Regions from separate parts of the Homo sapiens genome. Here regions 2 and 3 are each linked to region 1. Evidence: promoter capture Hi-C in 16 types of primary human blood cells and fetal thymus (Javierre and others, 2016). All regions are on one chromosome and are shown on one strand. The core of a region is centred on a gene start or on the middle of the fragment in contact, and the rest is flanking DNA. Distances in the headings are between cores, read along the strand shown. Region 1 holds the start of AARS2 (alanyl-tRNA synthetase 2, mitochondrial). Region 2 overlaps XPO5 (exportin 5). Region 3 overlaps VEGFA (vascular endothelial growth factor A).

The links. The method cuts DNA at HindIII sites, captures the fragments that hold promoters and counts their contacts. A CHiCAGO score of 5 or more calls a contact.
Region 2: a fragment that was not itself captured here is called in contact with the fragment with the promoter of AARS2 in region 1 in 1 of 17 cell types (total B cells); the score reaches 5.0 in total B cells.
Region 3: a contact is called between a fragment that was not itself captured here and the fragment with the promoter of AARS2 in region 1, in 1 of 17 cell types (total B cells). The highest score is 5.1, in total B cells.

The regions. Positions count from the first base shown.
Region 1 is chr6:44,311,808-44,315,097 of GRCh38, forward strand. It overlaps AARS2 (alanyl-tRNA synthetase 2, mitochondrial), which reads right to left and starts at 1,540. Exons shown (of 22, transcript NM_020745.4): 1 at 1,274-1,540; 2 at 265-456. The coding sequence starts at 1,516. LOC124901322 (a long non-coding RNA gene) reads left to right here. Exons shown (of 3, transcript XR_007059594.1): 3 at 2,344-2,740. RefSeq lists an enhancer at 1,285-1,844. The HindIII fragment of the contact is 8,838 bases long and covers 1-3,290 here.
Region 2 is chr6:43,571,577-43,574,866 of GRCh38, forward strand. XPO5 (exportin 5) reads right to left here. Exons shown (of 32, transcript NM_020750.3): 2 at 1,904-2,025; 3 at 930-1,002. Among named protein-coding and RNA genes, the nearest start is that of XPO5, 2.8 kb to the right of the region's middle. The HindIII fragment of the contact is 3,844 bases long and covers 1-3,290 here.
Region 3 is chr6:43,774,634-43,777,923 of GRCh38, forward strand. VEGFA (vascular endothelial growth factor A) reads left to right here. Exons shown (of 8, transcript NM_003376.6): 3 at 2,836-3,032. Among named protein-coding and RNA genes, the nearest start is that of VEGFA, 6.1 kb to the left of the region's middle. RefSeq lists an enhancer at 119-413. The HindIII fragment of the contact is 1,590 bases long and covers 888-2,477 here.

The DNA of each region.
Region 1 (3,290 bases), core at 290-2,789:
CTTTAACTCCAGTAAGCACCTTAGCATTGCTGTTTGACCATTTATTCAAACAACAATTTTTGAGTGATCATTAGGCAGAAAGTACAGTCTCTGCCCTTCAGGGACTTACAATCCAATCAGGGAGGTGAGGTAATTCCTGTTACACCGGCTCAACTAGCACTTTGCCTCCACATCTGGTATGAGGCCCTGCCTAAGCAGACAGTACAATGGAAACAGGACAAATTGACTCCCTTCTTGGCTGATCACTGATCCCCAGAGACTCACCTTAAAATATTCACCCCCAAAGGCCCAATTGCCAAGCATTTCAAAGAAGGTATGATGGGAAAGGTCTCGACCCACATCTTCCAGGTCGTTATGGTGTCCTCCAGCTCTCACACATTTCTGGCTGTTGGCCACACGTCGGAAGCCTGCCATCTCGCTTCGTGGATCCACGGTGCCCAGAAAGATTGGCTTGAACTGGAAGCACATAGAGTGGGGAGGGGGAGAGGGATATCCAATTTCTCAGTAGAAGGGAAATGTGGGGAGTGAGGATAGGGATGGCTGTTCAGACCGAAGGCTGACTGTGCCCCTGAGAGTGCAGTGTAATCTTGGTCTATGAGGACAAACTGGGAGCCTCGGGACAGCCATCTCTGGTGTGTGGGGAGCAGAGAAGAGGTAAACAAATCATGAACCGGAGACCCTCTGCCTAGTAAAATAGGCAAGGTAAAAGAAGGAGGAATGTGTTGGGAGCTGGAAATGGGACGCTGAAAGGTGGCATCCTCCGTCTCAGCTTCTTCAACCACACCCAATAACTTCAGGGAACAAAACTGAGACTCATTTAGTAGGGAGCCCAGACGGCCTCTAAGGTTAACTTATGCCGCCCCTATTTTACAGATGAGGACAATGAAGTCTAGAAAAGATGAGTGGTTGATAAAAACCAAAACCTTAGAGAATAGTACTCAGCAAACAATAGGTGATCAATAAACATTTAATGAAAGCGTTATCTTTATTTAAATAACGAATAAATGAAATCAGACTTCTCCCTCGGGATTCCACTCCAGCCATTTCTGGACCTAATACTCAATCCCAATCCAGAAGTTCCCAGCTCAAGCCCTCCCCAAGCCCTCCCTATACTCTGAGCGCCGTACCCCCATCACTTTACCCAACCAAGCACCGCCCTCTTTCCCCAAAAGCTACGAACTCCGCCTCTCGCTTCTTTTGCCCAATCCTGCAGCGTCTTTCTCACCAGAAAACTCACGAACTCCGCTCCCTATCAGTATGGTTCGGCCCTCACCTGGTTCATGCCCGCATTGACAAAAAGCAAACTGGGGTCGCCGCGGGGCCGCACGGAAGCGGAGGGCACCAGCCGGTGGCCATGGCGGTCCCGAAAGAAGTTCAGAAAGGCGGCCCTCACGGCCGAGGCCTTGGCTGCAGGGGGCTCCGATGAGAGCGGCCGATGGCTGAGGCCCCGCCATGCGGGCGACCTTCGAATGGCCCGCCGCAGCCTCCGGGCTGCAGCTGCCACTGACGCTGCCATCGTAGCTCCGGGCAGTGACTTTACGTGGTCAAAGAGTGACGAGGGAAGGAAGCCAGGCGTTTCCTACAGCGGCCCCTGGCGGTAGGAGGACTCAGGGGGCGGCCTCTGCCGCCGGGGTGGAAGCGATCGATTGGGTCGCTGGCAGAGTCTAGCACAGCGCCCGGCACATAGTAGGCTCTTAATTCATTCGGCATTAAGCAAATATTCATTGAGAGCCTACTATGTGCTAGGCATTGTTTTGGGCTTTTAGGGTACAAAATTGACAAAATGCCCTGCCCACTGAAATCCGTATTCTAGCAGTAATTGCTGTTGTGCTTATTAGTTTTGCAAAGTTACAGATGGGGTTGCAATAAACAGGTGTGGATTCAACTTCGTGTGTGTGTGTGTGTGTGTGTGTGTGTGTTTTGTGTGTGTTTTTCCAGGCTGAGGGAAGAAGGCAGAGAGTGACAGGGGAGTATCAGCATTCATTCAAGAGGTATTCAACAAATATTTATTGAAGACCTAGTATGTGCTAGGCACTGTTCTAGGCATTTGCCAGTTTCCTTGGACCTTGGCATCAGACACGGCCATTTTTGCCCGTGAAGCAGGAGTCTATAGGAGAACACAGAAGCCAAACAGCATCTGCTATATTATTAATTGCCTAACATTTGGTCTTCTCATTTGCCTGGGGATCAGAGAGAATCCAGGTCGTCAAGGCAGGAGGAAGCTGTTGGCTAATAGCTGCAGAGATTTCACTCTCTAAGCCTTCTAATGCCCTAAGGTTTTGTGTGTTTTCGTTTAGGATAAGAGATATACCTGTTCTACCTCTCCCTTCTGTCTTTCCATAGTAACAGCTGTGACCCTGAAGCCAACAGGCCCTTGTGGATGCAATCAGGGTGCTCATGGGGCTTCTCATGATGCCCTTGGCTTGGGAAATTAAACAGATTGGGAAGACAGAAGAGAATCTGCCAAAGCTAAAACTCAATAGAGGTTCCAGAGCTGAGGTCAGTGTAATAACCGAGAAGGCCTTAGCCATCAGGGTGGTCTCTTTTAGCCACGATTCTGTGTGTGTTAAGTTATTTGGGGTCTTTGTATACATAGTTTCTCTGCGGAATCTACATTGGACTTGAATTTCTATAGTGATAGTAAATTCTTAACTTTGTGTTCTGACAGCACCTATAACTCCTATTCCATGATCCCCTTTTTCTCCCTTTGCCCACATAGATTAAAGGTGTTGTTTTGAAAGTGTGTTTGGCCTGTTTTGGTTTTTCCAGTGTTTCTGGAACAGAAAGCTAAAGCCAGCTGGGGATTTCTGTGTGATTAATGACTTTTTTATTTTTTTGAGATGGGGTTTCACTCTTGTTGTGCTGGCGTGCAATAGCACAATCTCGGCTCTCTGCAACCTCTGTCTCCCGGGTTCAAGCAATTATCCTGCCTTAGCCTCCTGAGTAGCTGGGATTACAGGCATGCATCACCACGCCCGGCTAATTTTGTATTTTTAGTAGAGATGGGGTTTCTCCATGTTGGTCAGGCTGGTCTTGAACTCCCGACCTCAGCTGACCTGCCTACCTCAGCCTTCCGAAGTGCTGGGATTACAGGCATGCACCACTGCGCCCAGCTGAGATTGATGATCTTTAGACAAGACTGTGAAATTATTTCCCAAACTGAGATGGGAGTGTTTTGCCATACAAACCTGGCAGGGCCTCTACTCAGTACTGACATCAACTTTTTTTTTTTCAGATTTTGCCCAGAAAGTCATTGTGTTACATTAGAAACTCCAAACATGGATCTAGTG
Region 2 (3,290 bases), core at 277-2,776, 740 kb before region 1:
ATTGCTTGAGGCCAGGGGTTTGAGACCAGACTAGCCTGGGAAACACAGTGAGACCCTGTCTCTCTAAAAACCAAAAACAAAATTAGCTGGGCATGGTACCACATGCCTATAATCCCAGCTACTTGGGAGGCTAAGGCGAGAAGATCACTTGAGCCCAGGAGTTCGAGGCTGCAGTGAGCTATGATCATGCTAATGCAATCCAGCCGGAGCAACAGAGACTCTGTCTCAAAAAAAAAAAAAAGTCATATTCTAATACTTGAAACAAATTCATTCTGCATACTTAAAATTCTGCATGTTTTTCATCATTAGTATCACATAGTAGTTGTTTGGAATAAAAGAAAATAGTGTTTCAATCTAATTTAGATCTAAGAATCTTATTGATTTGTTGAAAATATTTAATCCCCTCTGCCCTGTCTTTATAATTTAAAAAATAGAAGTCAATACATAAGCATGATTAATTAAACCTAGTAAGAGACATATGCTGAATTATGCTTTCTGCTTTTGTTTTGTTTTGTTTTTGAGATAGGGTCTTGCTCTGTTGCACAGGCTGGAGTGCCATGGCACCATCACAGCTCACTGCAGCCTGGACCTCCTGGGCTCAGAAAATCCTCCCACCTCAGCCTCCTGAGTAGCTGGGCCACAGGCATGCGCCACCACGCTCAGCTAATTTTTGCATTTTTGGTAGAGATGGGGTCTCACTGCATTGCCCAAGCTGCTCTCGAATTCTTAGATGCAGGTGATCCTCTTACCTTGGCTTCCCAAAGCGCTAGAATTACAGGTGTGAGTCACTGTGCCTGGCCTAAATTATGATTTCTTGTGCTGTCTGACCTATTTAGAAGCAGTGAATTTTTACACAAACTCCCTATTGAAGAAGTCACGCTTTGCCTAAACTACCTTGGAAACATGTCTCCCAACCACCCATTCCTTACATTTGCAATCAGCTCCATGACACTGTTCTTCAGATACACCTTCTCCAATCGAGACATGCCGTTCCACCGAAACCTGACCACCAAAATGCATAAAGTCAATAGAACCACTTTAGAAGTCTTGTCTTTACAAGAGAATAGCATGGATTTCTACATTTGATTACACTGGAGATTTCATTAAGAAATTATACTTTTGATTTTGTACCTGTCAATGAATGGGCAAAAATGATCTACATTTAACCAAAATACTAACACAAAAATTCTTGGGAAAAGGTTTTATATATGCAGTGGTCCATTAACTGGAATCCGCACAAGATTTGTACCACACGTCAGCTTTGCCTCATGATTTTATTGATGGGCCAAAAGTGAATATACATCTAGGTCAACTGCAACAATGTACTTGCTTTTCAGAAAATGCAGTTTTGACATCAGTCATTTTCTGTGCTGGCTTACAAAACAATTCTGGAAAAACTATGGCTAAGTCTTAAAGGCTACCTCTTCTGATAGGTGTTGAGGGTAGGACAATCAAGTTAGGATGGGTTTTCAGTTATTCTCATACAATCCTGCTTTGGATGTACCACCCAGAGAAGGCACACAAACTCAGAAAGACAGAGAGAAAAAAGAAAGCCACAGTGCCTAATCAGAGATTCATTGACCTATACATTGCATTACTCTAAAAAGGCTTCGAGGGCTAATGACATATAGTCAGAGCTCAGTAAGTATTGGCTAAATGGCAGGTAATATTTGTTGAATGGGTAATATGTACCACACACTTTACATGGATGAAGAAACTGAAGAAAAGAAAGGTTAAATCTTGAATGAGAGCTCCTGTGAGGTTCTGATAACATCTAGGGGATCATTCCTCTCTTCTTGGAGATTGCTCTTCTCTACTCACCTAAACAGCATCTCTATAGGTTATATAAGATATAAAGATCTGTTCTCTCAGACTTCAGTGGTAATGTCCAAGAGCTCCTTACTTGACAACGTGTTCCAGGATCTGAAGGCCAAAATGTCTGACGATGGCAACTTGTGTTTTCTCAGCCAACCTCAAGCCACAGGGGACACAGATAGGACACTTTTCTTTAAACTCCTCACAAAACTGAAAGAAGAAAAGTTAGTGTTTCCTTTCGAGGGCTGAGAGAATAGGGACTAAAAGAATTTCATCTTAAGAAACTCCAACCAGGGCCGGGTGCGGTGGCTCACACCTGTCCCAGCACTCTGGGAGGCTGAGATGGGTGGACTACTTGAGTCTAGGAGTCTGAGACTAGCCTAGGCAACATGGCGAAACCCCATCTCTATTAAATATATATATATATATATATTTTTTTTTTTTTTTTTTGAGACGGAGTCTCACTCTGTCGCCCAGGCTGGAATGCAATGGCATGATCTCGGCTCACTGCAACCTCTGCTTCCCAGGTTCAAGCAGTTCTCCTGCCTCAGCCTCCTGAGCCCATGTAGCTGGGACTACAAGTGCACGCCACCACACCCAGCTAATTTTTGTATTTTTAGTAGAAACAAGGTTTCATCATGTTGACCAGGCTGGTCTTGAACTCCTGACCTCAGGTGACCCACCTGCCTTGGCCTCCCAAAGTGCTGGGATTACAGGCGTGAGCCACTGTGCCCGGCCCACTAAAAATATTTTTTTAAATTAGCCGGGCATGGTGGCAGGTGCCTGTAATCCCAGCTACTCAGGAGGCTGAAGTGGTAGGAGAATCACTTGAGCTCGAGAAATCAAGGCTGAAGTGAGCCGAGATCTCACCACTGCACGCCAGCCTGGACAACCAGAGTGAGACCCTACTCAAAAAGAAACTCCAACCTAAGCTATATGTTTAAAGTTGCAAAACCTAGATCAATATTATGTGGATCTCCAAGCACAGTTGCTTTAAAAATATATATTTAATATAAAAATAAAAATATAAAATATATAAAAGTTACACATATATAACATTTCCTCCAAGTGGTGTTCACTCTATTTTATGTGTATATATTATATATATATTATGAATAAAGAACTGATAAACATTCCTTCCAGCGTGATGGTTCCAGATTTTTTCCATGCTACGGCCAACAGTAGCCCTACTAGTGTTGGAAAAAAATGGACACAAAGGAATAAGAAATTATTTGTTAGAGACATCCCCCTGACGTACATAGGGGTGAAATAACAATTTCTAGGGTTTCTTTTAAAAACCTTCGAGGCAGGGAGAGAGGATAGGCGGTGGAAAAAGTAAATGCGGTAAAATCTTTGATTGCTGAATTTAGGTGACAGGAACATGCAGAATCACTGTCGTATTCTCTCCACTTTTGTGTCTATTTTAAATATTAATAATAAAAACCAAACTAATGGAACCCAATTGTTTCTGATTC
Region 3 (3,290 bases), core at 433-2,932, 540 kb before region 1:
TTTATTTGGAGAAGGAGTCGTGCGCACAGAGCAGGAAGACAGTGTTCAGGGATCCTAGGTGTTGGGGGAAGTGTCCCTTGTTTCCCCTAGCTCCCAGGGGAGAGTGGACATTTAGTGTCATTTCCTATATAGACATGTCCCATTTGTGGGAACTGTGACCCTTCCTGTGTGAGCTGGAGGCACAGAGGGCTCAGCCTAATGGGATCTCTCCTCCCTTCCCTGGTTTGCATTCCTTTGGGGGTGGAGAAAACCCCATTTGACTATGTTCGGGTGCTGTGAACTTCCCTCCCAGGCCAGCAGAGGGCTGGCTGTAGCTCCCAGGCGCCCCGCCCCCCTGCCCAACCCCGAGTCCGCCTGCCTTTTGTTCCGTTGTGGTTTGGATCCTCCCATTTCTCTGGGGACACCCTGGCTCTCCCCACCACTGACTGTGGCCTGTGCTCTCCACCTCTGGGGAGGGAAGGCCCTGGGGTCTTCCTTCCCGCGAGTTTCCCTGACCTAAATCTGGCGTGGCTGGGTAGTGGCCAGCAGTGGTGATGCCCAGCCTGTTCTGCCTCCTCCTTCCCCACCCCAGGAGCCCTTTCCTTGGCCTAGGACCTGGCTTCTCAGCCACTGACCGGCCCCCTGCTTCCAGTGCGCCACTTACCCCTTCCAGCTTCCCAGTGGTCTCTGGTCTGGGAGAGGCAGGACAAAGGTCTTTGTTTGCTGGAGAAAAGGTTGTCTGCGATAAATAAGGAAAACCACGAAAGCCTGGTTGTTGGAGTGTACGTGTGTGCTCCCCCAGGCAGTGGAGGCCAGCCCTCCTTGGAGGGGCGGCTGCCTGATGAAGGATGCGGGTGAGGTTCCCCGCCTCCACCTCCCATGGGACTTGGGGATTCATTCCAAGGGGAAGCTTTTTGGGGGAATTCCTACCCCAGGTCTTTTTACCCTCAGTTACCAACCCCTTGCCCAGGCCAGACCTTCCTGCTATCCCCTCCTGGGCCACAAGCCTGGCCCTCCTCTGTCCCAATTGTGATGAAGGGGCAGTTCAAAACTTCTTGATTAGTCATCTTCTCCCCTATCGACTTGGCTTTAAAAAATGACCTTTTCAGACTTCTAGTCTCGTTCACTCTTTTTGATGATGCTTTGCCGTAACCCTTCGTGGGTAGAGAAGGATTCTGTGCCCATTGGTGGTCTGGATAAAAGAAATAGAGACCTCACAGGAAGCAGTGGACTGGCCTGTTTCCCCACTGTTCTTTCTGTTTTCACACCTGTGGCCTTCTCCCCACCTTCTTCCCAATCAACCTATTGTGTACATAGCCCCCCTCATTGTCCTTTATTCTTCTGGAAAGCAGACCTTGGAGGGAGGAGTGAGGGGGAGGCTCAGCTGTGGTCTCTGGGGGGTGGGGGTTGGGAGCTGGGGTGGAAGTCCACGAAGCATACACTTAAGATGCTTTGGTGAAGTTCTAAACTTCATATTACCCAGGCTGAAAAAAGAGCACTTGTTCCTAGGGCTGGAAATGGAAGCCAAAACACCACCTTTTTCAGCCTGTTTCAGCATCTTTAGAGATCAGCCCAACCCACTTACACAGTTGAGCAGAGTTGGAGGCCTAGAGAGGGGAGGGACTGGCCCAAGGTCATACCAACTCATGGCCAGAGCCTGGGCCTCCTCACTGGCCAGGTGTTATTTCTTCCCTCTGGGTAGGGAACCTATTTCAGGGACAGGATTGCTATGTGGTAGTGGTGGTGGGGTGCGATAGGCGTGGCAGGCTGGGCCACAATTTGGAGTAGTCATGCCAGAGTCCTGCATTTATTTATTCTCAAGGGCCCCGCCTCTGTGGCCCAGAATTACCCCTTCATGCTCCAGTGCACCCCAGGCTTCGTGGCCAGCCTGGGAAACTGTCTCTACCCTGGTCTCCCTTCAGATCAGCTTCTAGAAATGTTTCGTGGCTACAGTGGCAGCACTGTTTTTTCCATGATGCAAGCAGTTTGCCCTCTTGGGCGGGGTTATCAGTGGCTGGCAGGGCTGGCACAGCGTGTCCGCCCACTGCCACCTGTGGGTTCCAGGAGGGCCCAGCCCCTGTGCTGATGCCCACCACCTTCTCAGCTCATGTCTGGGGAAGAGGACTGGCAGGGGGAAAGGTGCCTCCTCCTGAAAGGTGCCTCCTCTGTTTTTGCCTAATATAGGCTTGGGAACACTTTGATGTCAGCTAATTCTGACTCCTTTACTTACTAGCTGTGCGGCCTTGGGGCAACTTACTTAGCCTCTTTGAGCCTCCTGTTCCCCATCTGTAAAATGGAATCTCAATAGTGTCTAATAGTACCATGTGGAGAAACTTGTGTGAAATGATAGCTGTGGACTACTGTACACAGTACTCAGGATGTAGTAAGTGCTCAATAAACAGCTGTTGGTATGGTTGACGTTATGGTAGTGGTTGTGGGGAGGACGTAGGAAACTGGAGACTAGCTTGGCAAAGCTGGCTCTTCCTCCTTTTAGGGAAAGCTTAGAGCATCCCCATGGGGTATACCCATACTCAGACTGTCCTCTGGCATCGAGGTTGGCCCAGGATTCAGTTCAGCTGTCACAGTGAGGTGGCGGGATCAGATGTGGCAGGCCATGTCCCTTGGAACTTGAGTACATCGTGTGATCTCTGGAATGAAAACAGGCCTTCACCAGTGTTGATGGTGGAAAGCTTAGGGAAGTGCTTCAAACACAGTAGGAGGGACTTACGTTAGATTTTGGAAGGACTTGCCTGATTCGGAAGCTCCAAAGAGTGGCATTACAGAGCTGGGTGGAGAGAGGGGCTAGCCATCTTTTGTGTCGCCCACCGGGCTCATGTGTCATCGCCTCTCATGCAGTGGTGAAGTTCATGGATGTCTATCAGCGCAGCTACTGCCATCCAATCGAGACCCTGGTGGACATCTTCCAGGAGTACCCTGATGAGATCGAGTACATCTTCAAGCCATCCTGTGTGCCCCTGATGCGATGCGGGGGCTGCTGCAATGACGAGGGCCTGGAGTGTGTGCCCACTGAGGAGTCCAACATCACCATGCAGGTGGGCATCTTTGGGAAGTGGGGCAAGGGGGGGATAGGGAGGGGGGTAACACTTTGGGAACAGGTGGTCCCAGGTCGTTTCCTGGCTAGATTTGCCTTGTCTGGCTCCTGCCCCTGAGTTGCACAGGGGAGGTATGGTGGGGTCTTGCCTTCTGTGGAGAAGATGCTTCATTCCCAGCCCAGGTTCCCAGCAAGCCCCAACCATCTCCTTCTCCCTGATGGTTGCCCATGGGCTCAGGAGGGGACAGATGGATGCCTG